Regions from separate parts of the Homo sapiens genome. Here region 1 is linked to region 2. The links are contacts of gene promoters, found by promoter capture Hi-C in human tissues and cell types (Jung and others, 2019). All regions are on one chromosome and are shown on one strand. The core of a region is centred on a gene start or on the middle of the fragment in contact, and the rest is flanking DNA. Distances in the headings are between cores, read along the strand shown.

Region 1 (3,441 bases), core at 384-2,883, 110 kb before region 2:
ACTAATTTACTTTCTGTCCATGGATTTGCCTATTCTGGACATTTTGTATCAACAGAATCCCACACTATGTGGGATTTTGTGTCCGGCTTCTTTCACTCAGCATCCACATTGTAGCATGGATCAGAACTTCATTCGTCTTTATTGCCAAATAATGTTCCATTATATGGATATACCACTTTTATTTATCCATTTGCCAGTTGATAAAGATTTGAGTTTCTATTTTTGGTCATTATAAATAATGCTGCTATGAACATTTGTGTACAAGTTTTCACTGAACATGTTTTCATTTCTCCTGAGTATATACCTAGAAGTGGGCTTGTTGGGTCTTACAGTAACTCTATGTTTAGCCTTTTGAGGTATTTTATTATTTTTAATGCTTGATTATTCTCCAGAATATGTGGTAAAATATACCTGAAGTTACTTAACCACTCCTCTATTGATGGAAGTTTACATTTTCTTTCCTCTTTTTTTTCTTTAAATGTATAGAGATGGAGGTCTTGCTATGTTGCCTAGGCTGGTCTTAGAACTCCTGAGCTGAAACAATCCTCCTGCCTTGGCCTCCCAAAGTACTGGGATTACAGGTGTGAGCCACCGCGCCTGGCCAGTGTTCTTTCCTTATTCACCTTCTTGAAATTCTTTCTCTTGTCCCCTTCCTTCTTTCCTGTGGCCCTGGCACATAACCGGCTAAGGATTAATTTTCTTTTCTGAGTTGGGTTCTGACTTTTTGCCAAATGGAATAATGAATCAGCAAGGATTGTATAATGAGATCCTGAAAGATACAGTTATGAAGAACATTATGCTAGAACCTTAATCATCTCAAACAGGGAGATATCAGCTTATGATTTTAGTCATCTGGAATATAAACTATAAATGTACAGTTTTGTGACCATTTAACAGCGGCCTCTAGAGAGTGTTCCGTATCAGCGCATAGCGATTTATCTAATTTTTTTGTTGAGATACAATTCACTTGTAAAATTCATCCTTTTGAAAGTATACAATCAAGTAGTTTCTGCTATATTCATAAAATTGTACAACCATCACCATTATCTAATTTCAGAACATTTAGGCTGCAATTTAAAGAGAGTTCATAATACCTTTTTCGAGATGGAGTTTCGCTCTGTCACCCAGGCAACCTCCGCCTCCCGGGTTCAAGCGATTCTTGTGTCTCAGCCTCCCGAGTAGCTGGGATTACAAGCATGCACCACCATGCCTGGCTAATTTTTGTATTTTTAGTAGAGACGGGGTTTTGCCATATTGGCCAGGCTGGTTTCGAACTCCTGACCTCAAGTGATTCACCTGCTTCAGCCTTTCAAAGTGCTGGGATTATAGGTGTGAGCCACCGCGCCTGGCCTAGACTGCAAATTAAAGAGAGTTTGTAATATCCTTAACATGAATATCCCAAACGTGGACTTGTTTTCACAGGTTCCCTACTTCAGCAAAGCGTGGCAGCGTGTGATACAGATACCACTGCTTTCAGGTATTTCGCTCTCTGAAACATTGGCTACAGCATTTTATAGTTGAGTGTGTGTATATCATGGTTGTTTTTTTGTTTTGTTTTCAGCCTCTTGTCCTTTAAGTCCTGATCAGCTGTCAGATTGTTCTGAGAGTCTCATCGCTGTCCTCGAGTAAGCAAAATATTTGTTCTACCAAAAAAAAAAAAAGTTTGTTGCTTATAAGATTCCCTTCTAATAGATATCTCTAATGAGTAATTCCTTTTTGTTAGGAAGTTAAGCATAACACGTGTTTGTTGTTGTTGTTGTTGTTTTGAGATGGAGTCTTGCTCTGTCATCCAGGCTGGAGTGCAGTGGCACAACCTCGGCTCACTGCACCCTCCACCTCCCAGATTCAAGCGATTCTCCTGCCTCAGCCTCCTGAGTAGCTGGGATTACAGGCACGTGCCACCATGCCCAGCTAATTTTTGTATTTTTAGTAGAGATGGAATTTCCAAAGTGTTGGGATTACAGGCATGAGCCATCCCGTGAGTAGCTGGGATTACAGGCATACGCCACGCACCACCACGCCCGGCTATTATTTGTAATTTTATTAGAGACAGCCTCCCAAATTGCTGGGATTACAGGTGTGAGGCACTGCGCCCAGCAACACTTGTTTTGTTTTTTGTTTTTTGTTTTTTGTTTTTGTTTTGTTTTTTGTTTTTGAGACGGAGTCTTGCTCTGTCACCCAGGCTGGAGTGCAGTGGTGCGACCTCAGCTCACTGCAAGCTCCGCCTCCCAGGTTCACGCCATTCTCCCACCTCAGCCTCCTGAGTTGCTGGGATTACAGGCACGTGCCACCATGCCAGGCTAATTTTTGTATTTTTAGTAGAGATGGAATTTCCAGAGTTTTGGGATTACAGGCATGAGCCATCCCGTGAGTAGCTGGGATTACAGGCATGCGTCATGCACCACCACGCCTGGCTAATATTTGTAGTTTTAGTAGAGACAGCCTCCCAAATTGCTGGGATTACAGATGTGAGGCACTGCGCCCAGCAACACTTGTTTTGTTTTGTTTTTGAGACGGAGTCTTGCTCTGTCACCCAGGCTGGAGTGCAGTGGCGCCATCTCGGCTCACTGTAAGCCCTGCTTCCCGGGTTCACGCCGTTCTCCCGCCTCAGCCTCCTGAGTAGCTGGGACTACAGGCGCCCACCACCATGCCCGGCTAATTGTTTGTATTTTTAATAGAGACGGGGTTTCTCCGTGTTAGCCAGGATGGTCTCGATCTCCTGACCTCATGATCCACCTGCCTCGGCCTCCCAAAGTGCTGGGATTACAGGCTTCAGCCACCGCGCCCGGCCAACACTTGTTTTTATACCAAAATATCTTGATTATTTTTACAATGTCTACTTCCCATGTGTTGTGCGACTAGTAAACTGAGCATTCTCTAAAATGAGTACCTACTGTATGAGCATAGAGTACTTTTGGTGACTACCCTAAATCATACAGCGTTGTCGCATATATTTTGAGTCTTCTGGCTGGGTGCGGCGACTCACACCTGTAATCCCAGCACTTCGGGAGTCTGAGGCGAGTGGATCACTTGAGGTCAGGAGTTCGAGACCAGCCTGGCCAACGTGGTGAAACCCCGTCTCTACTAAAAATATAAAAATGAGCTGGGCATGGTGGCGCATGCCTGTAATCCCAGCTACTCAGGAAGCTGAGGAGGGAGAATCACTTGAACCCGGGAGGTGTTGGTTGCAGTGAGCTAAGATCATGCCATCGTACTCCAGCCTGGGTGACAGAGCTAGACTGTTTCTCAAAAAAAAAAAAAAAAAAGGTTTTGAGTCTTCTGAGAATTTAGAAGCCTATCTTTAGGCATCTGTAGGCTTTCAGACATAATCATGATAGCAAACAGTAGTCCGTGTTCCCATGGGTAAATTCTTTTATTCTGTGTAGAGTGCTGTCAAAGACTTGTGTTACTCATTCCTAAGCATATGTCATGCACCAGCAC
Region 2 (3,111 bases), core at 356-2,855:
TTAGCACGAGTTAATTCTAAGTCACCACTCTATCTTCCTCAGTGTTGTTGGTCTGCTTGTTCAGTGCCACTCAACAATGTGGGGATCCCATTGCCCATCAGACTGGCTTTGGAAACTATTTGCCACACTGATGCAACTCCTGCGACCGAGGTTCGAAATTGGCATCTCTTCCGGCCTTTGTGTTTTTGAGTGTCCTGGCTGCTTGGGTTTCAGACTGCAGATTTTGAGCTTGTTGTAGAATTTGGGAAAGGAGGGGCTTGAAAAATAATACACCAGGGGATCCAGCATGCTGTTCATGTAGGTGAAGCTGAGGGTTATGTGCAGGGCCCCATGGACAGAGGGATCGCAGGCACTCGAGGGCACCGTCCAGAGGAAATAGAGTCTAGCAGACACGCTGGGCAGGTAGCATGTGATGAACACAATTGCCACCACCATGATGAACCGGGTCGCCTTCTTCATCCGAGCCTGTCTGGCCAGCTGCTGCCTCCGCCTCAGGCTCCAAACAATCTTGAAGGAGCAAAATAAGATGATGCCGAGGGGCATAAAGAACTCCAGCTGGAACATGATGTCATGCCAGCCATTGGCCGACTCCATGATGAAGCTCTCACAGGAGACGGCCGTCTCTTGCACGCAGAGATGGTTCTCCAGCAAAAGATACACTGTTCCCAGGATGACCAGGGCCCACAGGGTGCAGACGATGCCAGCCGCCACCCGGGTGGAGATAGTGTTCACCGCGTGGTGGGGGTGGACCACTTTGAAATACCTGTCCGCAGCCACCACCGTAAGGAACACGATGCTCCCGGCCCTGTTCATGGCCAACGTGAAGAGCCCCACTCGGCAGGGAATGTCCCCAAAAGCCCAGTGTCTACGTCTGAGGTAATAGTCTGTCCGAAAAGGCAGGCAGATCATAAGGAGGAAATCAGCCACGGCCAAATTGAAAAGGTAAACAGTGCTGGGCTTCCAGGTCTTCATGTGGAAGCAGAAACCACACAGGGCGACCCCATTGCCTAGTGCGCCCAGCACAAAGGCCACAATGAGCAGCGGCGGCATCACCTGGGAGATGGTGTCCCCCTCGATGCGGCAGCACGACCCGTTGTACATGGCGGGGACAGAGCAAGTGTCCGGGTGCAGAGCAGCCCAGGGAGTCCCCACAATGGCACAGATGCTTATCTGAGCGTTAGCACTCACCCAGCTGCTGCGTGTCTGACTTCATCACCCAGGATGCGGGTCCTGTGTGTGTGGGTTGGATGCTGCCACAGCAGCGAGAAGAGAAACTTCAGCCAGGAAATGAGAGACCCAGGGAGGTCCTTTCTCTGGAGCCCGTCTCACAAGCCGCCTGCCTCTGGGAGAGGCCAAGCCTGGAGCCGGATGAAGCTTGGAAATGCATGCAATTTTGCAAAAGTGGTCATTTCTGAGAGGCGGTAGGGTGGGGGGGTCCGATGAGATTGATGCCGTAGAGGAGCGATTGGGTCCAGCGCCAGAGTAATTTTCATTTTCAGCTTCGCTGTTCCTCCTCGGACTCCGTGCTGGAGAGCACACAAAGCTGCCCAGAAGGCAAGAAGAAAGCTTGTTTGTCCTCCCTCCTGGTGGAGAAATCCAAACATTTCCTGGAGTGGTTCTGGGCTCCTGCCTTTGCTTTCCTCCCGTAACCTTTGCCTGACTGCCTTGTCCTCTCCCTCATCCCACGGGGCACTCCCATGCGGTGCCAGAGAGGGGAGGCTTTGCTCTGCAGCTCCTCCGGGCCATTTCCTGTGCCGAAAAATACCGCGCTCAAAAATTGGAGGAGTCTGCGGAGAGAAAAGTTCTAATCACGATACTTGATGGATGTTAGAAAAATTCTTTGACGGGAGTCACCTTTCCCCCGCTCTATTCCCACCTCCCTGCCCTTTACATCCTTCCGTGAACCAAAGTGGCCAGTTGCACAACCACCAAGACCATGAAATAGATCTGAAGCCCACTTCTCATATGTCTGTCTCCACAAAACGGCCTCTTTGGGAGCCGGTTTCCCCCTCTGCTGGGAAGCAGAGCCTAGAACTTTTACAAAGATTTGGCCCTGAGTTTCCATTGGCTGTTGAATGAGCCAAACACCATGAGATGTACGTTTTTAATTTCAATTATGTGCTGAGCCCATCAATTAAAACTGCCCCCTGGGGGCGGAAGAGGATTGGAGGAGTTGATTAAGGAGTCCATCTCTAAAGCAATCATGAGTAACATTAGACTGCACAAAAAATTGGAGTCTTTGCTAAAATTTCCTGTCCTTTGGCTTTAAGGATTATTAATCTGCCCTGTGCCTTTCAGCTTCCAGTTTAGAAAATGGGGTGGAGGCCGGGCGCGGTGGCTCACGCTTGTAATCCAAGCACTTTGGTAGGCCCAGGCGGGCGGATCACCAGGTCAGGAGATGGAGACCATCCTGGCTAACACGGTAAAACCCCGTCTCTACTAAAAATACAAAAAAATGAGCCAGGCGTGGTGGCGGGCGCCTGTAGTCCCAGCTACTCGGGAGGCTGAGGCAGGAGAATGGCGTGAACCCGGGAGGCAGAGCTTGCAGGGAGCCAAGATTGCGCCACTGCACTCCAGTCTGGGTGACAGAACCAGACTCCGTCTAAAACAAACAAACAAACAAACAAACAAAACAACAAGAAAAAGAAAAAGAAAAAAGAAAGAAAGAAGAAAATGGGGTGGAGGCCAGTCGCGGTGGCTCACATCTATAATCCCAGCACTTTGGGAGGCCGAGGCAGGTGGATGACTTGAGGTCAGGAGTACAAGACCAGCCTTGCCAACATGGTGAAACCCCATCTCTACTAAAAATATACAAAAATCAGTCAGGTGTTGTGGCATGTGTCTGTAATCCCAGTTACTCAGGAGGCTGAGGCAGGAGAATCACTTGAACCCGGGAGGTGGAGGTTGCAGTGAGCCGAGATCGTGCCAATGAACTCCAGCCTGGGTGACAGAAAGAAACTCTGTCTCAAAAAAAAAAAATGGGGCGGAAAAGAGGGGGTGCATTGAAAGAATGTGTCTGTCTTCTAGATGCACACTGAAGCTAAATTCTTCCCACTGGATGCTGGACTCCAAATCTGTCCACCCACATTCTCCCCTGCCTCGCCCTAGCAC

Evidence for each region. The method cuts DNA at HindIII sites, captures the fragments that hold promoters and counts their contacts. A contact is called where the count stands out against the background at its distance.
Region 1: a contact is called between a fragment that was not itself captured here and the fragment with the promoter of HCAR1 in region 2, in 4 of the 25 tissues and cell types used here (lymphoblastoid cells, mesenchymal stem cells, spleen and 1 more).

Annotation. Positions count from the first base shown.
Region 1 is chr12:122,616,921-122,620,361 of GRCh38, forward strand. It overlaps KNTC1 (kinetochore associated 1), which reads left to right. Exons shown (of 64, transcript NM_014708.6): 58 at 1,423-1,477; 59 at 1,562-1,625. Among named protein-coding and RNA genes, the nearest start is that of MIR9902-1, 77 kb to the right of the region's middle. The HindIII fragment of the contact is 6,913 bases long and covers 1-3,441 here.
Region 2 is chr12:122,729,239-122,732,349 of GRCh38, forward strand. It overlaps HCAR1 (hydroxycarboxylic acid receptor 1), which reads right to left and starts at 1,606. Exons shown (of 1, transcript NM_032554.4): 1 at 1-1,606. The coding sequence starts at 1,101. The coding sequence ends at 61. RefSeq lists an enhancer at 368-1,035. The HindIII fragment of the contact is 12,382 bases long and covers 1-3,111 here.